Linked DNA regions of Homo sapiens: regions 2 and 3 are each linked to region 1. Evidence: promoter capture Hi-C in 16 types of primary human blood cells and fetal thymus (Javierre and others, 2016). All regions are on one chromosome and are shown on one strand. Each heading gives the region's core, a stretch centred on a gene start or on the middle of the fragment in contact. The rest is flanking DNA. Distances are from core to core; before and after follow the strand shown. Region 1 holds the start of FAM167A-AS1 (FAM167A antisense RNA 1). Region 2 holds the start of DEFB134 (defensin beta 134). Region 3 has its middle 21 kb from the start of CTSB.

What was found. Contacts are between HindIII fragments. The CHiCAGO score rates a contact against its expected background, and 5 or more counts as called.
Region 2: the fragment with the promoter of DEFB134 here is called in contact with the fragment with the promoter of FAM167A-AS1 in region 1 in 4 of 17 cell types (total B cells, naive B cells, M2 macrophages and 1 more); the score reaches 8.3 in total B cells.
Region 3: a contact is called between a fragment that was not itself captured here and the fragment with the promoter of FAM167A-AS1 in region 1, in 2 of 17 cell types (naive B cells and total B cells). The highest score is 7.3, in naive B cells.

The regions. Positions count from the first base shown.
Region 1 is chr8:11,365,799-11,370,555 of GRCh38, reverse strand. It overlaps FAM167A-AS1 (FAM167A antisense RNA 1), which reads right to left and starts at 2,154. Exons shown (of 7, transcript NR_026814.1): 1 at 2,104-2,154. It also overlaps the pseudogene TDH. The HindIII fragment of the contact is 6,691 bases long and covers 29-4,757 here.
Region 2 is chr8:11,997,932-12,002,688 of GRCh38, reverse strand. DEFB134 (defensin beta 134) reads left to right here and starts at 1,937. Exons shown (of 3, transcript NM_001302695.2): 1 at 1,937-1,981. It overlaps LOC105379245 (a long non-coding RNA gene), which reads right to left and starts at 556. Exons shown (of 3, transcript XR_001745644.2): 1 at 482-556. It also overlaps the pseudogene OR7E160P and the pseudogene LOC100421446. The HindIII fragment of the contact is 7,293 bases long and covers 1-4,757 here.
Region 3 is chr8:11,886,311-11,891,067 of GRCh38, reverse strand. No RefSeq gene overlaps it. Among named protein-coding and RNA genes, the nearest start is that of CTSB, 21 kb to the right of the region's middle. The HindIII fragment of the contact is 3,746 bases long and covers 118-3,863 here.

The DNA of each region.
Region 1 (4,757 bases), core at 905-3,404:
TTTGACCTTTTAACAAAAGAGAAAAGCTTTTCTTAAGGACTTCAGACAAATGGATCAACAGACAAGGTATCACATATACTCCCAAAATAAGGCAGAGTTATCTCCCGAAACTATCCCCTTAGGGATGCTCACCTTATATTTGAAACATTACACTCTTTCAGGATATACTAAATGCTGTCGGTAACCTGAAAAGAATACAAGTTATTGTTCTGTGGAAACATTATTAGCCTCAAACAACCTTAAGCAATGCTAATATTGTGGCTGGTAGGATAAGTTGTAAAGGAGGCACATTAACAGTCACGGTCTCTAGGATTATAAAGCTACAGTTACAAGTATTTGGTGTCACTGGAAAGAAGCCTGTTAAAAATCGAAAGCAATGCTCTGTGGATTCTGAAAAGCAGCTGCCCTAGTGCTACCTACACACAGGCATACTTGTGGCTTGGGATAAATGTCCACCAACAGCATCATACATAGACCCCGAAACTGCTGCATCCCAAACAACTTAGAAAGAAAAAAGATCATCTGCTCTTAACCTATTAGGGGATGCCAAAGGGGGCACCAAGATCAAATACGAAGTCGGAGTGACATGCCTGAAATGCGAATGTGAAGAGGGAAAGCCCACATGCTGGTTAATAGATTAACAAATCTGAAACACCTGCAACTAATAGTACAGGTGTCTATTTTATCCTCTCATCTACAATCCTAAACTTTATATATGTAAGTTGGCTAAAAAAAAGTTTTCTGGGATCTTCACATTGGAAGGTAAGGGGTGGCCTGTTTAGCTACCTTATAGACAAACATACTAAAGCTATAAAAACAGTGCCATGAAATAATTTTTTTTAAAGTGACTACCCTAAAAAAAAATCATTAAAAAACAAGATTCCTTTCTCACCGGTGATTTTTGGAAGCAATTCACTGATTTAGAGGCAGTTATCATCCGGTTATGTGAGATCTAGGATTTATTCACTCACGGCTCTTGTATTAGAATGTTAAGATTCTCCAGCAAAAAATGAAGTTTATATTCTTCAAACCTTTTAGAAAAATAAAACTTTCAACTGATCCTGTTGCCTCAGCCTCCCAAAAGTGCTGGGATTACAAGTATGAGTCATTGCACCCAGCCACAAAAATAAAACTTTTCAACAAATGTAAACCATACTGAGGTCCATGAATATGTGCCAAGAGGAAGGTGTTGATGGTCGAGAATTTCATCACAAATTAATCCAACTCGTTCCGAAGATAAATTTGACCACATAAAATGAAGAGGCAAGTAGGTGTTTACGCCCTGTGACCCAGTAATTGTACTTCTAGGTTTCAGCAATTAAATAGAATGACATCATTATGATACTCCATTCAACGAGTTATGCAGCTATCTTTAAATGGCAAATGTTAAAACTACATGTAAGTTCTTTGTAACGCATAGAGGACTGGAGAATATTTTAAAACAGCTACCATGTGACATGGCAAAAATTGAAAGTGAGTCTTTTCCAAAACTTTTGACAATATTGTCTTAGCACTACTTTTATAGTAAAAGAAAAGAAAAAGGTTTCACCTTCCACTCCTAGATTGTATAAGCACAGGAGAAAATAAAAGGTATACACTAGTTTTTTTGTGTGTTGTTGTTTGAGATGGTCTCGCTCTGTGGCTCAGGCTGGAGTATGGTGGCGCAAGCATAGCTCATTGCAGCCTCAAACTCCTGGCTACAAGTGATCCCTCAGCTTCAGCCACGTGAGTAGCAGCTACAGGTGTGCATCACCACATCTGGCTTAAATTATTTTTGTAGAGATGAGAGTCTTGCTATGTTGTCCAGGCTGGTCTTGAACTCCTGGCTTTAAGCAATCCTCCTGCCTCAGCCTCCTAAAGTACTGATTACAGGTGTGAGCCACTGCACTGGGTCCCACACTACACTGCTAACATGTTATTGATTGGGTTTGGAGGGGAAGACAACTTTATTATATATCTTTTAAATTGTCTGAACTCTTAATAAACATTTTTTTAAAATGACAGAATTTAAAGCATTTTCTGAACACCCTTACCATAAAATACAATCACAAATTGGTGATTTGGCCTATGTGAATTAAAAAATACTAAATATCTCCCACCTACCATAGTAAGTGTCCAAAGCACTGCAGTAGCTTTCACTAATCCAGTCTGTTCTGGACTCCAGGCCATCTATCTTGCTGGCAGACTTCGGGATCGCTGTTTGTGTAGCAACACAAGGCACATCCCAGCAACGCCACACACAAACATGTGAGCAGAAAACTAATAACCACCGGTAGCCTGTGTAAAACATCAGAACAAAGCCAATCTTTGTATTCTTTCTTTTTTATTTATAAATAAACTATTTTTGTGGTTAAACCCACTTTTCCTTCAAATAGCTTTTTGGGTTATTTCCAAATTAATCATAAAAAACCCTTTCTCCCAACAGAACGGAAAGCATTTTACAGGAAAACATTGATGGGCTCCGGGATCCCAAGATGTGCACCAGATACTGAGTGTTCAGACAGAAGGGACAACTCTAATTCTAGTCTTGGAGTACAAAGATGTCAGTGAATAAGAATCATCCAAAGAAGCTGAAGCATTCATTATTTTTTCACTCTTATTTGAGATCTCCTGGAGGTGTGTTTACAGATTGGGAAAGATTCAAGGAACCTGTTTGGAACAAACCCCTCCAAATGATCCGAATTAAAGGTCATTCTAGGAGCCTGGTAGAAATGCTGGAAGGTTAGGGTCTAGGAGACAAAGGTCACTCGAGTTGCTGCTTCTTATCTTATGAAAGGGAAGAATTGCTTGTTCCTTTAAGATAACTGAGAATAAATTAATCAAACTTAAGAACTGTTTTTTAAACTATAAACAGTAAGCAATCATTTTAAAACTCAATTATCTACCCAAATGTTCACAGCAGCATTATTCATAATAGCTTAAAAAGTGCAAAAAACCTAAATGTCCCTCAATGGATGAATGGATAGAGAAAATAAGAGGATTACTCATACAATGGAATATTACTTAGCAATAAAAAATGAAGTAGTGATACATGCTAAAACATGGATGAACCTTGAAAATGGACTGCTTAATTAAAGAAGCCACTAAAAGACAACCACATTCCACTTACATAAAATGCTCAGAACAGACAAACCCAGGGACAGAAGAAGTACATTAGTGGTTGCCGAGGGTGGGAAGGGCTTATATAATATGATTTCTTTGTGGGGTGATGAAATGGCCTAAAATTAGATTATAGTGATGGTTGCAAAACTTTTTAATACATTGAAAACCACAGAACTATAAATGAGTGAATTTTATGGTATGTAAACTATATCTCAAACTTTCAAAAAAAGAATTCATTACTAACTTTCTGATTTTAAAAAATAAAATCTTCCTGCCTCTCAAGAGCAGCCCAAAAGAAAAATAACAAAAAAATAAAATCTACAAACATAAACCTTATTAAGTGGAGGAAAAAGCTACAGTAATGTAACTGTTAAACAATTCAATTACCTAAAAGTTCTCCAGTTAATAGTCAAATAGATTTTAAATCCAGTTATGCCTTCAAAAAAATCCACGCTTTGACCTAACAGTTCAAAACTCCAAATGCATAACATTTTGTTATTAAGCATGCAACATAAATAAACGCCTTTTAATCCTTGATAGCTGTTATCAAATATATCCATGATTAATCTGTGGAACTGGAAGTTTCACTTCCTAGTGATTTTACATGCAGTACATTCCGAGGTCGCTGGAAAAAAGTTAACCTGTACGTGTCTATACAGTATTGCACCAGAAATATTTTTTTAAATGACCGGATTGAAAGCATTTTCTGAACACACTCATTCCCTTACCATAAAATACAATCAGAAATTGATTTGGCCTAACTTCAACTTAAAAAGTTAACCTGTATGTATCTATACGGTAATTGCATCAGAGGGTTTAGAGTAGCCCTTCTGAAAGCTCAACCCAGGAATATCTTAAAAAAAAAAGATGCAACAAGAAAGTGCTCTTTAGAAAACTGCATTGGTCTAAACTGGTCTGACTAGTGGGCCTCAGCTGGATTCAAATAACCAGTGGCACCTGGCACTTAATGAGTGAATCTAAAGGGATGTAGCCCAGAAACCTGTGTATTAGACAATCTCCCTAGATGCTGATGTTGCCAGGTCAGGGAATTATGTTCCTGGGAATTACATTTAGCTCACTAATAGGAGGGCAATCAAAATAAGAGCAGGGCTACCCTTCGCTGGTTACATCATCTTTGAATTCTTAATTTCCCACAGATCTAGCATCTTACAGAAAAACCAGAAATTATAATTTTTGAAGCAGTGTCAAAATATCTTGAATGTGATAGACATGGGATGAATACACCAAACATGTTTTACTTTCGCTGGGATAGTAAAGAATACTTATAAATGAGGAGTACCTCTTTGAAAGTCCTTAAAATGTAATCTTTGGTCTTTAGTCAAGAGAATAATCGAGTCTTAAGAGGAATATTTAAATTGAATTTAATTAAACACAAATGTCACATACTCCCAGCTTCCCAGAAATAGTCACTTCATCCTAATTAAGGAAATGGAAACTAATGATGACTTAAGCCTTATTCTGTGGAATGTGTTTAGACAAGTTCAGGCAAACAGCAAAAACTGAAAAGTCCCACCACCATACCTACAACATTCTGAAAATGCTTAAATGTTAACTCCATTCTTTGTCTAGCAGTTCAATATGAGCTGCCAAAATTTAGTCCAATGAGTCAGTTCCAAATAATGTAGGCTCCTTGG
Region 2 (4,757 bases), core at 688-3,187, 630 kb before region 1:
CATAATAGGGTTTTAGTCATGTAAGGGATATGTCAGTCTACTAGGCATATTTACAAAAGTATAATTTTCTTTTTCTATAAATTAACTGAATTCCTATTAGGAACCTTATTTTGCCTGGTCACAGAAACTGAAACTTAGTCAATTCATAGTTGATCATATCTTCTCCAAGTTATTTTTAAGTTCCAAAAGAGGTAAGCAGTGATGAGGTATCTCGGAGAGCGTTTATTATGTTAACCTACTAAAACATCTTCATTCTCATCTGATCTTCTGTCACTAATCTAGGTACAACTGCTGAGTTCTGTCTCATTCTTATTTTTAATAAAATTTGTAAAGCTCTTTGGGTGAGGCCCATTCTTTGGTACATTGGTTGGTCCTGCTACTCAAGCATCATCCTAGGTCCTTAGGTTATAAGTAAGTCCCAATAAGGGCCACAAAATAGTATTTCTCTTGAACTACTTCAGAGAGCCCAGCCTCATCTCACCTCAAATTCTTTCTAAAAAGTCTTGCATCATGTCTCAGACGAGTCCTAATATGTGGCATCCACTATTTTTCTTGTCTGTTTCTCTGCCTGCAAGTGGTAATGTCCTGTTGGTAGTGGAAGCACTGGGGTTACCTCTCATTGTTGCTGTGGAAGCTGGTACCAAGTGTTTCTGATGCCTTGGCCCTTTGCGTCCCAAGACGTCTGTGAAAGAAAAGAAAGAAAGAAAAGAAAGAGAGAGAGAGAGAGAAAGAAAGAAAGAAAGAAAGAAAGAAAGAAAGAAAGAAAGAAAGAAAGAAAGAAAGAAAGAGAAAGAAAAAGAAAGAGAGAGAGAAAGAAAGAAAGAAAAAGAAAGAGAGAGAGAAAGAAAGAAAGATTCTTTAGCTTTTTCAGTGTCACTTCCTTACCATAGGTTCTAGCTCCCCAGGCCCTGGCATCTACTAATTCTTCCTGGCTGGCCCAGACTAGATTCAAAGTAGAATTTTTGCTATATTTCAGAACCCCTTTGTCCCAGGAGACAATATAGAAGAGTGGTTAATTAATTTGGGTTCTAGAATCTCTGTAAGACTTATCAGTCCCAGATGTGTGATTTTAGAAGAATTACTCAAATCTCTGCTTCAACATCTTGAAAATGTGAATTGTGAAAATGTCTAGTTAAGAGATCATTTGTAAGATTAAGTGAGGCAATATTAAAAAAAATACATACTACAATCCTTGATGCCTAAAAGTGCTCCAAATACCAGCTGTTAGGAATATATCTGCAGTAGTTCCCCACCCAGCCACAGTTCTAGTTACTTACAGTCAACCACAGTCCAAAATATTAAATACGCTGGGTGCAGTGGCTCATGCCTGTAATCCCAGCGCTTTGGGAGACCAAGGTGGGTGGATCACCTGAGGGCAGGGGTTCGAGACCAGCCTGGCCAACATGGTGAAACCCCGTCTCTACTAAAAATACTAAAATCAGCCAGGTGTGGTGGCAGGTGCCTGTAATCTCAGCTACTCAGGAGGCTGAGGCAGGAGAATCACTTGAACCTGGGAGGCAGAGGTTGCAGTGAGCCAAGATCACGCCACTGCACTCCAGCCTGGGTGACAGAGCAAGCCTCCATCTCAAAATAAATAAATAAATAAACACAAAATTCCATAAATAAACAATTCATAAGTTTTAAATTGCATGCTGTTCTGAGTAACACAAAATCTTGCACTACGCAGCTCCACACACCCAGAATGTGAATCATCCCTTTGTCCAGTGTATCCACACTGTAAACACTACCTGCCCATTAGTTATTGAAATCATATGCTTCTGAGATCCAGCCACTAACATCACCATGGCTCAGTGACCCAGCATCACCCGAAGGAGATGATCCCCCTTCTGAGCTATGGTCAGAAGATTAGCAATAGCCTAATGCTATGTCACAATGCCTATGTCGTTTTCCTCACTTCCTCTCATCACATAGGCATTATATCATCTTACATCAGCACAAGAAGAAGAGTGAGCATAGCACAGTAAGATATTTTGGGGGAGACAGAGTTCACATTCACATAACTTTTATAGTATTGTTATGATAGCATATTGTTATAATTGTTTTATTATTAGTTATTGTTATTAAAATCTTACTGTGCCAAATTTATAAATTTAACTTTATCATAGGTCTGCATGTATAGAAAAAAAGCACTGTATATATAGAGTTCAGTATTATCGACTGTTTCAAGCATCTACTGGGGGTCTTGGAACATAGCCCCATGAATAAGGAATAACTACTATATATTGTAAAGTTAAAGTATAAACCTAATATCTAGAGTTCATTTATTTATTCAACAAATATACCTTTGGCACTGATGGCCTGCTAGACTTTCAGCCCAATACTGGTGTAAAATGATAAATAAGACAGTCATGGAATCTACTCGGATTTCACAGTCTAATCAGAGACACAAATAATTGATATAGTAACAATTGTGACAAGTGCTATGAAAAAAAAAGGAATGGGTGCTGTAAAATTTGTAATGGGAAAGAGGACCATCTCTTCACAGAGGATACAGAAGCTGCTTCCTTCTGCATCTCCCACTGTTGGCTAGAATACATTTCTGTTTATTAGGATTGTCATTTGGAAAGGCTGCATATTGAATCTGTATGGCTCAGGGTCAGACAGGGACATTTCAATTGCAGCTGAGAGTATGGCAGTTGCAGAACAACCACAGATCAGGAAGATGAGAAGAGTAGCATGATGACCCTAAAGAAATACCAAACCCAGGAGGCAGAAGAAAGAGCCATCTAGTCCTAGCGTGGAGCATATTGTACTTCTCCATTTTCTAATCCCAGAGCACCATGTGGCCTTAGGGGAATATATGGATGAAAAGAAAAAGCTGGTGTGCTGGTAAGCCACATACTTGTTTTCAAATGATGCGCACATCTCCCCTCTTTATCTCTAAAGTCTATGAACTAGGTCAGCTCCCAACTCGTGGCACCTACAGTGAACCAGACGCTGAGCCAGGGGAGGTCTAGATAACAAGAGACGATCTCTGACAGTTGCTGAAATTCTTCTTTACCTTTTAGAGCAAAACTCAGAGGCTGTCCTGTTCTGATATTTAAGTAAAATCACGAATTGCTGGTAGTTGGTGACCTAGTCAGTGAACGAGCTCCTTATCAATAGTGGGAGAATGATAGTAATAGTCCGTTCTGGGGAAAAGAATTTGGCACTGTAATGGTCTTGGGGTTTTTTAACTTTGGCTTTGTAAGCAACATTATTTTTGCTTGGGTTAAAGCCTCTTCCAGCTGTTTATCAACATAGATAAAAGTATATTGCTTTATTATTTCTCCTTGAGTCATATTCAACACTTTCTTTGCATGGGCAATGCCAGTATCCCACTGAGCATGTCCTCTCTGAGGTTGAGGTTTCCAGGTCTTTTTTTCTCAGAGTGATTGCTGGCTTCTTTGGGAGCCTCAGCCAGTAATTCTTTATACTGTTTATGACCTTTATACTCCCATACCTGCTTTTCATGAACCCACGCCCTCACTGGCTGGTTGCTAAGAAATTGGACATGATATGACCAGGCACCCCTTGTGTCAATTTTAGTATGAACTTCCAGCTGGGGCTCACTTGAGACCAAGGTAGGAACCTAAGGTAGAAATGATAGGTTCCTGCCTTGGGCTTTTTCTGTTTGGTAGGTTTTTTACTACTGATTCTATTTCAGATCTCATTATTGGTTTGCTCAGGCATTCAATTTCTTTCCAGTTCAACCTTGGGAGGTTGTACTTTTCCAGGCATTTATCAGTTTCTTCTAGGCTTTGTAGCATGTGTGCATGCAGATGCTCCTAATAGTCTCTGAGGGTTTTTTGCATTTCTTTGGGGTCAGTGGTAATATCCTCTTTCTCGTTTCTGATTGTGTTTTTTTGGATCTTCTTTTTTTAGTCTAGCTAGCAGTCTAAATAAGCAGACTTATTCATTCTTTTAAAGAGCCAACTTTTGGTTTCATTAATCTTTTGTATGGGTTCATGTCTCTATTTCATTCAGTTCAGCTCTGATTTTGGTTATTTCTTTCCTCTGCTAGCTGTGGGTTGATTTGCTCTTGTTTTTTTAGTTCTTCTAAGTGTGATGTTAGGTTCTTAATTTGAGATCTCTCTAACTTTTTGGTGTAGGCATTTTCATGCTATAAATGTTCCTCTTAACACTGCTTTAGCTGTGTCTCAGGGATTCTGGTATTGTACCTTTGTTTTCATCAGTTTCAATGAACGTCTCTTTTTTATTTTTTTTATTTTTTTTTTAAGACAGCGTCTCACTCTATCACCCAGGCTTGGGTGGAGCAGGACAACCACAGCTTACTGTAGTCCCAACCCCTTAGGCGCAAGCAATTCTCCCACCTCGACCTCCCAAGTAATTGGGACTACAGTCGTGCACCATCACACCTGGCTAATTTTTTTTTTAATCTTGTAGAGACAGGGTCCCACCATGTTGCACAAGGTGGCCTTAAACTCCTGGACTCAAGTGATCCACCTTCCTTAACCTTCCAAAGTGCTAGCGTTACAGGTGTGAGCCACTGCACCTGGCCCAGTTTCAAAGAATTTCTTGATTTCTGCCTTAATTTTATCCTTTACCCAAAAGTCTTTAAGGAGCATATTGTTTAATTTCCATGTACTTGTATAGTTTTGAGAGATCTTCTTGGTATTGATTTCTATTTTTATTGCATTGCGGTCTGAGAATGTTACTGGCATGCGTTCTTTTTAATTTGTTAAGGATTGCTTTATGGCCAAGCATGTGGTTGATCTTAGAGTATGTGCCATGTA
Region 3 (4,757 bases), core at 741-3,240, 520 kb before region 1:
ATTGCTTTTAGGCAGTTGAACAAAGGGCCTTGATTCCTAGGTGTTTTTTCCCAGAAGGCACCCTGTGTTTCTTGCCTTGTGGGCCTCCCCAATCAAGCAACTTGCTTTATGAAAGCTTATAAAGGAGAGAGTCTGCCACCAAGACACAAGTCGTCATCTTATATTTACAGAGGTGACATCCTATCATCTTTGCTCTTCTCTGTTTGTTAAAACCAAATCGAAGGTCCTGCCTGCACACAATTGGGGACATTACACAAGGGTGAGAACACCAGGAGTCAGGGACCACAGGGAGCCATCTCAGAGTTCACTCAACACAAAGATATTAATCTTCATTAAGCTCTTTCTGCCCCAGAAAGCAGCCCAGCTTTTGTGGATGTTGTGAGGCCTGTCTCCCAGAAGGGCATTTATTAACCAAACAGTATACAAGATGGTATTAGTCCATTTTTATGCTGCTGATAAAGACATATCAGAGACTGGGCAATTTACAAAAGAAAGAGGTTTATTGGACTTAAAGTTCCACATGGCTGGAGAGGCCTCACAATCATGGTGGAATGTGAAAGTCACATCTCACATGGGGGCAAACAAGCGAAGAGAGAATTTGTGCAGGGAAACTCCCATTTCTAAAGCCACCAGACTTCATGAGACTCATTCACCATCTCAAGAACAGTGCAGGACAGACCTGCCCCCATTATTCAATCACTGCCCACCAGGTTCCTCCCACGACACATGGGAATTCTTGCAGTTACAATTCAAGATGAGATTTGGGTGGAGACACAGCCAAACCATGTGCAGTGGCACAATCGGCCCACTGCAACCTCTGCCATCCAGGTTCAAGCAATTCTCATGCCTCAGCCTCCTGAGTAGCTGGGATTACAGGCATGTGCCAGCACACCTGGCTGATTTTTGTATTTTTAGTAGAGACAAGGTTTCACCATGTTGGCCAGGCTGGTCTTGAACTCCTGACCTCAAGTGATCTGCCCACCTCAGCCTCCCAACATGCTGATGCCTGGCCCGATTTCTTCTTTTTCAATATAATGTGGAATTATCTGATATCTGGATCCAATTTAGTTGTTTATGGAACTGAAACTTCCATTTATTTTGTGGATTATTTCCAAAAACTGATTGGGACTTTGTGTCCGATTTCATTCGTTTCTGTGTGTCATCAAAAGCTGTATTTGTTATGGAGATTAATAATATGTTCTAATTCCCCAGAACTTAGCCATGTCTAACCCTGATATGGACAAGGTTCCATCACCTTTTATAAGACCTTTACAGTAAGTCTTCAATAAATATTTGTTGAATGAATGAGTAAATGACTGAATGGATGGGTGAATGGACACTTTCGCTGGCTTGGGTTTGGGCAGACAGTAGGAAGTGGGGGCCACTGTTTCACCAAAGGAATCACGCTGGAGAAAATCCCTGCATAGCATTGAGTTGTGCAACTATAAATCTATTCCCATAAATTCCAATCAATCCTGTAAACTTCAGAGCAAAAATGCCAGGCTGTGTTAGTTTGCTCAGGCTTCCGTAACAAAATACCACAGGCTGGGCAACTTAACAATAGGCGTTCGTTTTCTCACAGTTTTGGAGGTTAGAAGTCTGAGATCAAGGTGTTGGCATGGCTGGTTTCTCCTCAGGCTATGCCTTCTCCGTGTCCCCACATGTTGTTGGGTTTTTTTTTTTTTCTGTGTATGTGCAGCCTTCATGTCTCTCCCTCCTCCTATAAGGACACCAATCAGATTGAATTAGAGCCCACCCTAACAGCCTCGTTTAACTTAACTACCTCTTTAAAGACCGTGTCTCCAAAGACTGGGTGTGGTGGCTCACAATGTAATCCCAGCACTTTGGGAGGTGGGAGCGAAAAGATTGCTGGAGCCCAGGAGTTTGAGACCAGCAGGGCAACATAGTGAGGCTCTGTCTCTACAAACTGTTTAAAAAAACAGCTGGGTGTGGTGGCGCATGCCTGTAGTCCCAGCTACTCAGGAGGCTGAGGCAGGAGGATCGCTTCAGCCAGGTAGAAGAGGCTACAGTGAGCTATGATCATGCCACTGCACTCCAGCCTGGGCAACACAGCAAGATCCTGTCTCTAAAACAAAACAAAAATCAAAACCTTATCTCCAAATATAGTCACATTCTAAGGTAGTTGGGCTTAGGACGTCACTGTGTGACTTTGAGGGAAGTCACTATTTAGACCATACCACAGACCAGGCCTCGTTTTTGCAGGCCTTCCTGTCCTTGCCTCTCACCATCAGACCCTGTCAGTCCCCAAGTCAGTTGACTGAGGAGCCTTCTATCAGCAGCCCCAGACCATTCTTATGGGGGTGTGAGGGGACAGTGCAGGTCCCTAGAGGATATGTCCATCTTCTTTACTCTGGGGATCAGCCCAGAGTCTGGGGGCCACAGTGGACCCCTCTGAACAGCTGCTCCCCAACCCACACACTCCCACTCCCTTCAATGGGGCACCTCCCTACACGCCCGGCCCTCCTGCACTGCTCCTCAATTCCCATCCCTAACCTTGTCTCCTCACACAACTCCAAACCCTGAACTGCCTCCCAATGGCCCTCAGATTTAGCAGTGGCTGTAGACAGATTCGTGCAGGCACAAACCCTGATAGTAGGAAGCTCCCGAGGTGCCACTCCGCCCGAGCCCACGAGCATAGCGCTCACCCTTCCGGCGGTCCTCCCTCCCTCGTTGCTGTTCCTCCTCTTCCCCTTCCTGATCCCTCCTTGGATGGCTGACCTTTCAGCTTAAAGTCTCTGGCTCACTCCTGGGACCTGTGGAGAACGTTTTGGTTTGGTTTGGTTTTGGCTGTTCTCGCTACGCTGGTGAACTCTCAGTCCCGTGGAACTGATGCCATCTGTGCACTGATTGATTGCAAATCCATGTCCCCAGCTTGGCTCTCTGTGAACTCCAGACTCAGCTCTGTTCAGTGTCTTGGCTCGAATGTTTAATAAGGCATCTCATTCTTGACATGCCCCAAACTGAGCTCCTGCTCTCCCCCATAAAACTTCCTCCTCTGAAGTCTTCCCCACCCACGTTTATAGCATTCCCATTGTTGCACAACCATCTCCACCATCCATCTCCAGAACTTTCTCATCCCCCAGCTGAAACGCTACACCTATTAAACACTAGCTCCCCCTTCCCCAGCTCTTGACAGCCCCCATTCTACTTCCTGGGCCTGGGCTTTTACTTTGATGGTGTGGGCGCGATTGGTGGCCTTTGAGCAGAGGAGTGTATGATTTGACTTGGGTTTTAAAGAAGCCCTCGGGCGCTGCGTTGAGACTGACATGCCAGGCGTGAGGGAGAAAGCAGGACGCAGGGGGTCATTAGGAGGAGCCCAGAGGCTCAGCCAAAAAAAAAAAAAAAAGAAGCTGGGCGCATTGGGTCATGCCTGTAATCCCAGCACTTTGGGAGGCTGAGGCTGGTGGATCACGAGATCAGGAGATCGAGACCATCCTGGCTAACACGGTGAAACCCCATTTCTACGAAAAGTACAAAAAATTAGCCGGGTGTGGTTGCGGGCGCCTGTAGTCCCAGCTACTCGGGAGGCTGAGGCAGGAGAATGACGTGAACCCGGGAGGTGGAGCTTCCGGTGAGCCAAGATCACGCCACTGCACTCCAGCCTGGGCGACAGAGCGAGACTCCGTCTCAAAAAAAAAAAAACAACTTGGAATCATCCTGCTTCCTCTTTTTCTGTCTTTTTCTCTCATAGCCCACACCCAACCCATGAGGAAATCTCTGCCTTCAGAATATTCTCACTTCTCACACCTCCCTGCAAGCCCCCTGCTCCAAGTCACCCTCTCCCCTAGCCTGGATTCCTGTTTTGTCTTTCATTTGAGCCAACATTTAAAAAGCAGGAAGCTTCATCCAAAAATACGGATTTCTGCTTCTAGCGAATAAAGAAGCAGCCATGGCAACATTCTGCTATCATCCTCTCTTGGCAGGAATCTGCTAGAACTAAGTAGAAGCTACCGTCTTTATTTAAGGCTTACACGTTCCACTTTTCCTCCTCCGTCCTTTAGTTTCTCCGCAACATTGAGGCCACGTGTGAATTACCACTTGTCATTGTCACTGAACTTTTTCTTTTAGAAAAAAGAGAAATAGGGATAGGCGCTTTGAGGGTTCAAGGTGATAGGATCACTTGATACCAGGAGGTCAAGACCAGCCTGGGCAACATAGGGAGCCCCTGTCTCTACAAAATAATAATAACTAATTAATTAATTAATTTAGCTAGGTGTGGTGACACACACCTGTGGTCCCAGCTACTTGGGAGGCTGAGGCAGGAGGATTGCTTGAGCCTAGGAGTTTGAGGCTGCAGTGAACCATGATTGTGCCACTGCACTCCAACCTGAGCAACAGAGTGAGACCTTGTCTCAAAAAAATAAAAAATAAAAATGCTGGATGCGGCAGCTCACACCTGTAACCTCAGCATTTTTGGGAGGCTGAGGTGGGAGGATCACGTGAGTCCAGAAGTTTAAGACCAGCCTAGGCAACATAGCAAGACCCCATCTCTTAAAAAAAAAGAATTAGCTGGGATCTTCAGTTGTCACATAGGTGGAAAAAAAAAGAAAAAAATTAAAATAAAAAATTAGGTAGGCGTGGTGGTGCATGCTTGTGGTTCCAGCTACTTAGGAGGCTGAGGTGGGAGAATCAGTTGAGCCCGGGAGATTGAGGCTGCAGCGAGCCGTGATTGCACCACTGCACTCCAGCGTGGATGACACAGCAAGATCCTTTCTCGAAACAACAGCAACAAAAAC